4 separate regions of the Homo sapiens genome follow, and all the other regions are linked to region 1. The links are contacts of gene promoters, found by promoter capture Hi-C in human tissues and cell types (Jung and others, 2019). All regions are on one chromosome and are shown on one strand. The core of a region is centred on a gene start or on the middle of the fragment in contact, and the rest is flanking DNA. Distances in the headings are between cores, read along the strand shown. Region 1 holds the start of PLK1 (polo like kinase 1). Region 2 overlaps PRKCB (protein kinase C beta). Region 3 overlaps PRKCB (protein kinase C beta). Region 4 overlaps PRKCB (protein kinase C beta).

Region 1 (2,812 bases), core at 193-2,692:
CCTTCCTTTCTCCCAGCCTCCTCCAAATTCCAGCCTCTTGTAGTGATGTCAAGCACCCCTGCAGGCTCAGCAACTCACCTATTTTCACCTCCAGATCTTCATTCAGGAAAAGGTTGCCCAGCTTGAGGTCTCGATGAATAACTCGGTTTCGGTGCAGGTACTGGCAGCCAAGCACAATTTGCCGTAGGTAGTATCGGGCCTCAGGCTCAGTCAGGGCTTTCCTCCTCTTGTGCAGCTCCAGGAGAGACTGTGGGTGGGAAGGAGAGGGCAGGAGGGATGGGGAGGTGGATTGAGGCCGGTGGGGAAGGGAGAGGGTTACCAGGCAAAGGAAGCACAGGACTGGACTCTGGACTCCCAAGGGATGAAAGAGGGGTCTTGGTGGGTTTCTCTCCTTCCCTATGCCCCCACCCCATTCCTTCTCCAGCACAGCGGCATCTGGACCCTGCCTTAACACTGTCCACAACCATTCGCAGCACCCCTTCTCCTACTAGCTTCCCCCCTTACCTGGGGGTCCTCTCTCAGCCCCACTCCGGAAGCTCCGAGTCCCCAGCACCAGATCCCTTTCCTGACTCGTATCTCCCCCGGAAGGCCCGAAGTCTGGCTCCAACTACCCCCCCACTGACCCAGCTCCACCCCAGAAGCTCCCAGGGCGCGGCATCACTAACCTGGGACTCCTCCCTGGGTACTCCAGGGCCCTAGCGTCCATTACCAGCACCCCTCCCCCCAGCACCTCGCGTCCAGAAGCTGACTTCCCTATCAGCAACATGACTCAGACTCCACTTCACTGGAACCCCCTCCTCTAGCAGCTCCCAGAGCCAAGAAGCCCTTACCAAAGACACTTTCCATACGTAAGCGGGAGGCTCCCAGCACCCTTCTCTAGCAGCTCCAAGTCCCAGGCTCTCCCTTGCTGGGTACTCTTTCCAGCAGCTCCAGGTCTGGGCGCTCCAACTGCCCCGCAGGCAGTTCCAGTTCCCCAGCAGCGACACTCACCCTCCGGCGGCAGAGCTCCAACACCACGAACACGAAGTCGTTGTCCTCGAAAAAGCCGTGGAATCCTACGACGTGCTGGTGGGCGAGGCTGCGGTGAATGGATATTTCCATGGACATCTTCTCCCTCTGGTGCGGCTTGAGCAGCAGAGACTTAGGCACAATCTTGCCCGCGAACACCTCCTTGGTGTCCGCGTCCGAGATCTCGAAGCACTTGGCAAAGCCGCCCTTGCCCAAAAAGCGGCCCCGCACATAGCGCCGCCGGCTGCGTGGGTCCACTAGGACCTCCGGGATCTCTTTCGCCGGTGGAGCCGCCGCCGGAGCTCCGGGAGCTGCAACTCCGGGGACCCCGGCTTTCCCAGGGTCGGCCGGTGCCCGTGCCAGCTTCCCTGCAGTCACTGCAGCACTCATGCTCCCGAAGCTGCGCTGCAGACCTCGATCCGAGCAGAGCCTCCGCACCGCTCCGCTCCTCCCCGAATTCAAACGCGGCGCTGGGAACGTTACAAAAGCCTGCGCGCCACTGATTGGCCGCGGGGATTTAAAATCCAAACCCGCCCGCCGCGCGGCACCATGGGAGCGCCCTGCGCAGCAGCAGCCTTTAAACCCGGACCCAGCCGGGGAAAACCTGATTGACACGGACGCCCGAACACGTGGGATAGCCTGGGAAACCAAACCCGGCGTGGATGCGGAGACCCAGCCCCGAGAGAGGAGGAATTCCTTCGGGGTTTCTCCCTTTCTCGGGCGTCCGGGAAAGCTCCTGCGGTTCACTTGCGCCTCCTCCAGGAAGCTTTTACTTAAATCTTCCTCTACCTCGGGGCCAGGGAACAGTAGCATCGCCATCACCTGAGAGCTTGTTAGAACCGCAAAGGCAAACGTTCAGGCCCTACCCCAGACCTCCCGAGTCAGTGTCCGCCTCTCAACAAGACTGCTCAGGTGATTCCTACACATCCTGAAGTTGGAGAAGCACAGTACCAGAGCCCCCCATGATGCAACGAAGCTGTCTGGCCTCCTCGCTACTGAATTTCCCAGGGCCTAAAATAGTGGACACTCAGTTTCTTGGTCAGAGGGAGGGAAGGTTGGAAGAATGCCTAGCAAACTGGCAGGTCATAGCCAAATGTGTCTTGCGGGGTTTTGTTTGGCCTCCCCCCACGCCTTTTTTTTGTGTGTGTGACGGAATCTTGCTCTGTCGCCCAGGCTGGAGTGCAGTGGCACGATCTCAGCTCACTGCAACCTCTGCTTCCCGGGTTCAAGCAATCCTCCCGCCTCGGCCTCCCTAGCAGCTGGAATTACAAGCATGCACCACCATGCCCGGCTAATTTTTGTAATTTTAGTAGAGAAGAGGTTTCACCATGTTGGCCAGGCTGGTCTTGAACTCCTGACCTCAAGTGATCTGCCCCTCGGCCTCCCAAATGCTGGGATTACAGGCGTGAGCCACCGCGCCCCGCCATTGTAAAACATTTACAGCATTTAAAAGAGGAGCTCATAAAAGTTGGGATTTGTGGCCTTTCCTGAAAAAAATCAGCTCTAGCTACTTACTCTGTGCCTACATGCTTTCAGTTTGCCACAGTTTACAGCTACACCCGTTTGTTCTGTAGGTACTTGAGTGGCAACCCTGGAACAGTAAAATACCCACGTTAAAAGCTCTTTCTCTGTGCCTCCTTAGCACCCTCTGATCCTTCATAGAGCCCAGCAAAAATCAACCATACTATAAGCATCCTTCACCTGCCTTGCAGCTAAGCTGAAGGACAATGAGGACAATGATGCCGTCCTTTCTACCCCATGTCCCAAGCTCCCAGAGCAGTGCTTGGTAAAAAAAAAAGGGTAC
Region 2 (2,973 bases), core at 191-2,690, 390 kb before region 1:
TTTTTTTTTAGACAGGGTCTCACCATGTTACCCAGGCTAGTCTCAAACTCCTGAGCTCAAGCGATCCACCCGCCTTGGCCTCTCAAAGTGCTAGGATTACAGACGTCAGCCATCGTGCCCGGCCATGTTTTGTTTTCAAGGCAATGCAGAGAAGAGGTAGCTCAGGCTCCTCTTACCATACCAGATATGCAGAGTTCTGAGAGGTCTGAAGGCAGAGTAAGTCTCAAATGGAAAGCCAAGAGAGAATGCTTAGGGTATATCATGAAGACGAGGTCATTAAGCTCCTCCCCTATCTCTGAAAGCCCCAAGAGCAGCATCCAAGTCCTTAACTCACATCCTCACATCAGCCCTGGAGTGGAGGGGGGCTTTGAGCTCCCTCTTCAGGTCACAGTGTGTACTAACTACCCTTTGTCCAGATGGTTCCCTCCCTTGCCTTTGGCCCAAAGCTCATTCATCCTTCTAGTTAGATCTATAAGGCCACCTCTTCCCAGAAGCCTTTCCTGACTTCATCTGACCCATCACAGGATTTCTTCCTTTCTTATCTTCAGTGACACAGTATACTTTAGAGAGATATGTACTTGCTTTACTTGTTCTGCTATATTAAATAGAGCTCCTTAAGGGAAGGGACTATGACTTCCTAATTTTTCTGGCCAAGGGCTTGGCCTCAGGATCAAACAGACCTGAGTTTGAGTTCAAAGTGATACCACTTCCTGGCTGCGGAGGCTTGGAGGATTACTTAACCTCTCTGAGCCTCAGTTTCCTCATCTGTAATATGAGAATAGCAACAGTGTTCCCTCATAAGATGGCTGAGAGGGCTGAGGAGCTATATACTTCATGCTATTATATGCGTTGTAATGACTGCAACCTATTTTACACTCAACAACTCCTAGTCATTATTATTATTCTGTTCTATTAGGTGCCTGGGATACTATTTTCTATATATTTCATATATACTTAATAAATGATTTTTAAATGTCATTAAATTCCCTGGTTTCAAGGCCGGGCGCAACGGCTCATGCCTGTAATTCCAGCATTTTGGGAGGCTGAGGCAGGCGAATCACTTGAGGTCAGGAGTTTGAGACCAGCCTGGCCAAGATGGCAAAAATCCGTCGCTACTGAAAATACAAAGATTAGCCAAGAGTGATGGCACATGCCTGTAATCCCAGCTACTTGGGAGACTGAGGCACAAGAATCGCTTGAACCCAGGAGGCAGAGGTTGCAGTGAGCCAAGATCGTGCCACTGCACTCCAGCCTGGACGACAGAGCAAGACCTTGTCTCAAAAAAAAAAAAAAAAAAATCCCCTGGTTTCCTGCAAGATGAAAAGCTTACCATCACAGGGCCCCAATCCCAGTGTAAGTTAACGTCCCTTCCCTGGTTGCCCAGGACACCTTGCACTCGTGTCTGGCACAGCAGTCCTAACACTTTGCTGTAATTATCCATTTATTTGTCGTATTGACAGTGGTGACGCCATAGCCCAGCACAGTGTGAGCCACACACTGAAGGAAGGAAGGAATGGCCATGAATCACGTCATCTCGGGAGTACCCGTTGGGAATGGAGAAGAATCTTAAGACCTCCAGCCCAGAGAGAATATACAGGTTTTGTGATTTGTTCTAGGCTCTGATGATGTCATGACAATAACAATGACAACTTTTATTGAGCACATACTATATGCCAGGCACTGTTTTGTTTTGTTTGTTTTGTTTTGATACAAAGTCTTGCTTTGTTACTCAGGCTGGAGTACAGTAGTGCAATCACGACTCACTGCAGCCTCAACCTTTGGGGTTCAAGTGATCCTCCCACCTCAGCCTCCCAAGTAGCTGGGACTACAGGTGTACGACCATGCCTGACTACTTCTTAAAATTTTTTGTAGAAATGGGGTCTCACTATGTTGCAGGCTGAAATCAAACTCCTGGGCTCAAGCAATCTTCCCACCATGGCCTCCCAAAGAGGTGGGATTACAGGCATGAGCCACCACGCTCAGACCCAGGCACTGTTTTAAGCACTCTATACACAGCACAGCACTGCTCGTCCCCAGTGCTCAGCCTCTTCCGGGCCAAACTTCAACGTCTCACTCTGGGAGGCAGGAATCCAGCAGCTGAAAGAAGTCAGTCTTACATGATTTAAAAACAGGCTGTTCTGAGGCCATCTGCTTCATTTGCCCCAGGACATGGGGACTGGACCAAACTGTCCTCTAACACGGCACCTCCTGCATTTCATGTACCCTTATCTGATCTAAAGCCACTTTCTATACCAAATTAGTCAAGTGTGATGGTGAGGAGCTTAAACCCAGAGATCCTGGCAGATCAGCTCTGCCATAGAGCAGCTTTGTGACCTGAAAGTTACCTAACTTCTCGGTAACTCAGTCTCCTTGTTTAAAAAATGGGGCTAATGATAAGGATGTTGGCTCATAGGAATGTTACAATCATTATAAATTAATAGAATGTCTGGCATATGGTAAACATTCACTATGTGCTACTTTGTTATTATTGGCTCTTATTTTATATCGCTGTCTCCATAGTGTTCTAGCAGAATGCTTAGCAACCTTTACTTCACTATCTTCACTCCCCAAAGTTCTCAGGGTCCCCTACCAGGATCTGAAAGAAATGAGGATTCCTCACTCTATCACTGATGCTCACAACACCCTTCTTTAAAAATAATTTTCTGAACCAAACAAATATTACCTTAGATCTTATCCCAAAATTAAATAAATGCTTTCATTTGTATATTCACCTTCTGGTCTTTTTCCATGTTAACATTCAATTTTTACATAATTATACCACTCTAAATCTATTTTGTATTTTATATTTTTATTTAATATCATACCACTTGGGGCAATGATAAAGTAGCTCTCCCACTGAGAGCAACTATAAAAGCCAGATAAAAAATATTTTTCAAGAAACTGGAATTTTGAAGGAATTAGAATTAAGATAAGTCCAATATTCTGTGTGTGGTTTTTTTTTTTTTTTCCTTT
Region 3 (2,813 bases), core at 44-2,543, 470 kb before region 1:
TGGAAGAGAGACAGGGCAGAATGGCTGGGAATTTCCCCCTTCACCAGGGACAGGGGTGGACATCCTACATCTGTGTCAATTACCCCCATTTCGTAGATAAACACACTGAGGCTCAGGGAGATTAACTTGCTTCAGCTAATGACTGTTCTGAAAATGCAGCTCTGACTGTGCCACTTGAATGCTGAAAGCCCTTCAGTGGCTCTTGAAAGCCAAACAATTCCATGACCACATCCTGTTCTTTCTTTTCCTTTGAACATTCGACTCCCACTGTCTATGACGTCCTTCCATGCTCTTGCACTGCTTTGAAAATCTGAGATTCCACTGGGCTGTTATCTCCTCCTCTAATCTGGAGGTTCCATTCAGACCAAATCGGCCACTACCTCCTCTGGGCACCAGGGCTGCTTTGTAACTATGTCAGTTACTGTAGCTCAGGCATTTCCGCACTTCAATCATTCATATCCGTTTTTTCACATTTCTTCCTGCCACCTAAACTGTTATTTGCTTAGCATTTTAAAAATCTAGTCACATTTCAACTTAACTAAATTTGAAAAGGAAACTTTATATCACCACTATTAATGGCAAGCCAGTATCACAAGTCATAAATGGAAGATAAGCATAAAAATAAATAAAAGCAAAGCGGTGCCAGTAAATTCTAGCTATATACTGCTGGCTGCTGAAGGTTCTGAGTCAGGCTCTGCATCTTCTCCTTGTTAAAGGAAAAAATTGTATTAGAAAGTTGTTAGAGAGCATATTGTCATCAAATGAGATTTGCTTGTTCAAGTAATTAGAAAGAGTAAAAGGAGACACAGAAATAACCTTATCATAACGTGATTTAATTTTATTTCATAGTGCAACTACACGGCACCTAAAACAATCTCAAGTAGCAGTTGAAATCTTCTTGCAAATCAGCAATGCTATGTGCTCCGCATCGTAGGAGATACTATTGCATTTGTACAGATAGTTTTAAAAATCAATAAACAGGGGTGTGTGAAGATTCCCAGTGTCTTGCCCTGCCCTCAACAACATGCCCTATACTGATTAACGGAAAACAGAACGGGCATGCATAAGGCATAGCAAAAATTTAGACATAGAAGCGAACTGAATTCTAGAGCAGGAGTCAGGACACTTTCTCTATAAAGGGCCAAACAGGAAATATTATAGGCTTTGCGGGACGGTCTGGATCAAGAGAATGAGTGTGGCCGTAGTCTAATAAAACTTTATTTACAACAATAAGCAATAGCCTGGGCTCCAATAGTTTGCTGACCCTTGTTTTGCAACAAGTGTTTCAAGAAGATCAGGGAAAATAAGAGTAACCACATGATAAAAAATGACTGCAGTTTAATTTGGAAATGAAAACCCTAGCATGCCTTTCACTTCTTCCAACTCTGTGTTATTAGAAGAACCTTCTGATTGGGCAGTGGATACAGCTGGTCACAGCTGATTGGATCAGAGGTAAGTTCCTCAACCTGAGCCAAGCCAATCGGATTCCCCCTCCCAAGAATTTGAATTAGGGTACTCTGAGGAGTCAGTCCTGGGTCCCTCAACAGAGAATACACAGATCTTCCTAGAGTGGTCCTTTTTTGTTTTGTTTTGTTTTGTTTTCTGTTTTTCGTTTTTGAGACAGATTCTCACCCTGTTGCCCAGGCTGGGGTGCAGTGGCATGATCTTCGTTCACCTCCTCCCGAGTTCAAGCAATTCTCTTGCCTCAACCTCCCAAGTAGCTGGGATTACAGGCGTCCACCACCACACCTGGTTAATTTTTGTATTTTTAGTAGAAATGGGGTTTCACCATGTTGCCCCAGCTGTTCTCAAACTCCAGACCTTCAGTGATCCGCCCATCTAGGTCTCCCAAAGTGCTGGGATTACAGGCGTAAGCCACCACACTCAGCCTAGCGTGGTCCTTTTCTACCACTGTGCAGGCAAAGAGGAATAAAATAGATGTTTGAGGCAGGGGGAAAAAAACAAAGAAGGTAAGAGAACAAGCAGAGGCCTTGCTTTCAGTTTCCAATCTCTCATGAGGCTTAGCCATTTTCTGTTTGAAACCTTTATGTTCCTCCAATAAAGTTATTTTTATTTATATTACTTTGAATGGATTATGTATCTTAGAGATCCCTAAAACAAAATTATTACATAGGTAGCTCAAATTCTTACTAATAATTAAAATACATGAAGCCAAGTAGCATCATGTCAGTATGTGACCTAAAACAAGGCAAATTCCAGTCTTTATAAAGGACAGTGCCTCTTGCCTATGTCAGAATCACTTGAGGGTCTTTGCTTACCATATAGATTCCAAGCACTCCCTCTCCTTCAGGAGCTCTGGGCTGTGACCTGGGAGTCTGCATTTTAATAAACATATTCTTCCTATGTTGATTATAATCACCAGATATTATCAAAATTGATTCATTTAATAAGGTGGCTAGGAGATGTCAGTAGGTAAAGCTGACAGAATCCTTCCATCCTGATTTTCCTAACACTTTCTCAGCAGTCATTAATAGGATGAGAGAAAACTTTCCTTTTCTTCTTAATATTCTAATCAAGCTTTCATTTTCGATATAAATCTCTCTGTCCTCTCTTGGAGTTACATTTTGAGAGCTGTCCCCATAGCACGAAGGAAGTGATACTTTATAGAGGTTTTAAAACATGTCTACAAATATTTGATACTCCTCCAATCAGAGCCAGAGTCTCTGAACCTGGGCAGGCACTGCGGCTGCCTTAATGAACAGAATGTGGTGAAGAGACCCTGCAAGACTTCTGAGGCTGTAGCTTCTGTCAGTTTCTTTCCTTTCTACCCCAAGACACAATGCTAGACCAGG
Region 4 (3,172 bases), core at 258-2,757, 290 kb before region 1:
GAAAATAAGGCATGAAAAGTTAAGTAACTTGACTGTCAGTGGCAATCAGGACTGGAAACCAGCTCTCAATAGACTCCAATACAGGCACATGCATGCGTGAGTCTCAAAAACATTATTTTAAGTGAAAGAAGGCAGACACAAAATAGTGCATACTGTACAAGGCCATTAATCTATAGTAACAGAAAGATCAGTGTCTACCACACTGATGGACTACCACAGTGTCCACCTACTTGGTTCTAGGGTCTTTGCTCTTAGCCACTACACATTCACTTTAAACTCCCCATGGAAGATGCAACCATTCCCAGTGGGCCCCACTGCAGGGGAAGGAGGAGAATGTCTTTTTGGTTTTGGTTTTTGAGACAGGGTCTCACCCTGTCGCCCAGGCTGGAGTGCAGTGGCGCGATCTCAGCTCACTGCAACCTCCGCCTCCCAGGTTCAAGCAATTCACTTGCCTCAGCCTCCTGAGTAGCTTGGATTACAGGCACCCACCACCACATCCAGCTAATTTTTGTATTTTTAGTAGAGATGGGGTCTCACCATGATGGGCAGGCTGGTCTCGAACTCCTGGCTTCAAGAGATCTGCCCACCTGAGAATGTCTCTTGATACTGAAACTGAAGCCCTTTCTCAGGACCTTTAGCTCCTAGAAACGGTTTGAAACCCACACTGAATCTCAGCATTTATGAGTACTTAATATTGACCAGGCCCTTCCCTTCGAGAGTACATGAGCCACCCAATAACCTTCCAAGGTCAGTTATCTCATTCTCCTCCACTTTCAAGGTAGGGAAGCTGAGAGTTACGTGCTGCTTGTTCCTTGTTTCACCTCTCAGATCCATTTTTTTCTCTCTGATTCTGCTGTGAGCTGAGCCCCAAAAGGCTGACCCTTACAGAATTCATCATCTGGTCCTTCTGGTTTCCAGCTGGGTTCAGCCAGTGGGTGAGGCCAACAGGCAATGGGAGAGGTGAAGAGAAGCTGGGGTGTTTCTTCCCCCTCTTCCTCCCTGCCTCGGTACTGCTATTTGGGAAGCGGTTCATCCCTCCAGGACCATGGTTCCTGCTGGCGATGCCTTCCTTCTTAGCCCCAGCTCTCAATAGGCTCCAAACTATTCCCTCCGCTTGCTTCTTCCTCTTTACAGACGGTAACCGCCTCCTGCTGTTGCAAGGCCCTAGGTGCTTCCACATTCCTTATTTGTAATCTTAACCTTGCCCAAGTCTCCCTAAATAGTCCTTTCATGAAACTTTCTTCTTGCAGCCACCTGAATGGTTCTATTTCCTGCAGGGTCCTGACAACCTCAGGGGTGGAGGAACTTGTCCACAGTCACACAAGTCAGTAAAGGGCAGATAGGGCAGGTAGGTTTGAACCTAGATTCCATCATCTCAAGCATGCTTCCTTCAGAGCAGAAGGCACAAACTCAAAGACCCACAAAGGCCAGGCCAGTAAGCATAACTAAGTCAGGCAAGTGGGTAAAGCACAACAGGGAGTGGTGGGGCTTGGGGAAAACCAGAGAGCATGCACCCCACTGAGAGGCAACCACATGTAAATTTAAACAAGCACTTCAAAGACACCATAAAAGGCCCGGCGCAGTGGCTCACGCCTATAATCCAAACACTTTGGAAGGCCACGGCAGGTGGACCTCACTTGAGGTCAGGAGTTCAAGGCCAACCTGGCCAACAAGGCAAAACCCTGTCTCTACTAAACATACAAAAATTAGCTGGGCATGGTGGCGGGTGCCTGTAGTCCCAGCTACTCGGGAGGCTGAGGCAGGAGAATCTCTTGAACCTGGGAGGTGGAGGTTGCAGTGGGCCGGGGTTGTGCCATTGCACTCCAGCCTATGTGACAGAATGAGACTCTATCTCAAAAAAAGAAAAACAAAAACAAAAAAGAGGAAAGAAAGAAAGAAAAAAGAAAAAAAGACACCACACAAAAATTTCCAAGGAATTTCACCACTGCCTCTCCAAAAACCTCCTGCTGTTAGGAATTGTTCCTGATAGCAACCTAAACTTCTTTTCTCAATCCCATTCTCAATCCTTCCCACACAAGCTTTTAAATTACTTCTCCACTTTGAAAAGATTCAGGCAACAGAGATCATTAATTTTCTGGCTTCAAAGGTGGCTGTCCTGACCCAATGCATTTTCTCCACATCACCATCACCACCCTATCGCCCCCATGGGTGACTATGAGGAAGCTGCTTCCATCCTTTTGTCTTCTGCTGTCAGGGGGCTGGGAACCCAGCCAAGGCCACCATCCAAAAGGAAGGATAAGAGAAGGAATATTCTAACTCACTGCCTGGTGGCAGCGTCATCTGCTCTGTGGGCAGAAAAAGCCACAATAACCTCCACGCAGGAGAGGGAGGAGGCGCCCTCCACACCAACGACCTTGAAATCCGACCAGCTGCTGATTTGCAGGGCAGAGACAGGCCTCCTCCCAGAGCAATTAGAGGAGTGTCTTAAGGCAGGGGCTGCAAACTGGCTCTTGGGTTCACAGCATGTACTGTGCTTTAAAAAAAAAAAAAAATGGAAACCACTGCCAATTCTTAAGCTAGGAGAGTTCACGGTTTTTACAAATCCAGGTTTCCGGCTTTTCTTACAGAAAAATCAGAAGTTTTGTCAGCAGTGGGCCCACATTCTCATGCAGCAACAGAGTCATCAGAGCTTAGTCCACTACAACATCAACTCCAAGGGGGCAGGGAATTTTGCCCGGTTCATTCTCTGCTGTGTCCCCAGATGCAGAACAGGGCTTGGCACACCAGTGTATATGTGATGCATGAATAAGGAATAGTTCCCCTTTCAGACAGCCTTGCATTCTCTAGTTCACAGAAATCCACACCTGATTCAATTCACTCATGTAAGTCCCCTTCTAGTCTCCTGCAGATGGTTGGGCTTGAGACACCCAACTTAAAGGGATTTAAAGGCAGGCGAGACACAATCCTTGCTCCTCTGAAACAAACTAGAGGGATTTTAGATTCGAAGGGATAATAATAATAATCACTTATAGAAAAGCTACTATGCAGTACACTGTTGTAAATACTTTCCACATATTGGCTCCTTTAATCCTCTCTACAGCTATGTGGTAGGTCTTATTATTATCCTTATTGTACTGAAGAGGAAACTGAGGCACTGAGAAAGAAGGTAACTTGTCCAAGATTACACACCAGAAAGAGGTGAAGGCAGCAT

What was found. Contacts are between HindIII fragments. The study calls those that stand out against the background at their distance.
Region 2: a fragment that was not itself captured here is called in contact with the fragment with the promoter of PLK1 in region 1 in 2 of the 25 tissues and cell types used here (dorsolateral prefrontal cortex and lymphoblastoid cells).
Region 3: a contact is called between a fragment that was not itself captured here and the fragment with the promoter of PLK1 in region 1, in 1 of the 25 tissues and cell types used here (dorsolateral prefrontal cortex).
Region 4: a contact is called between a fragment that was not itself captured here and the fragment with the promoter of PLK1 in region 1, in 2 of the 25 tissues and cell types used here (hippocampus and lymphoblastoid cells).

Annotation. Positions count from the first base shown.
Region 1 is chr16:23,677,519-23,680,330 of GRCh38, reverse strand. It overlaps PLK1 (polo like kinase 1), which reads right to left and starts at 1,442. Exons shown (of 10, transcript NM_005030.6): 1 at 991-1,442; 2 at 79-247. The coding sequence starts at 1,398. The HindIII fragment of the contact is 4,791 bases long and covers 806-2,812 here.
Region 2 is chr16:24,068,473-24,071,445 of GRCh38, reverse strand. All of the region lies in intron 5 of PRKCB (protein kinase C beta), which reads right to left. Among named protein-coding and RNA genes, the nearest start is that of MIR1273H, 130 kb to the left of the region's middle. The HindIII fragment of the contact is 4,818 bases long and covers 1-2,973 here.
Region 3 is chr16:24,149,126-24,151,938 of GRCh38, reverse strand. The region is part of intron 9 of PRKCB (protein kinase C beta); the gene reads right to left. Among named protein-coding and RNA genes, the nearest start is that of MIR1273H, 53 kb to the left of the region's middle. The HindIII fragment of the contact is 4,819 bases long and covers 1-2,813 here.
Region 4 is chr16:23,966,354-23,969,525 of GRCh38, reverse strand. The region is part of intron 2 of PRKCB (protein kinase C beta); the gene reads right to left. Among named protein-coding and RNA genes, the nearest start is that of PRKCB, 130 kb to the right of the region's middle. RefSeq lists an enhancer at 1,415-1,544. The HindIII fragment of the contact is 6,673 bases long and covers 1-3,172 here.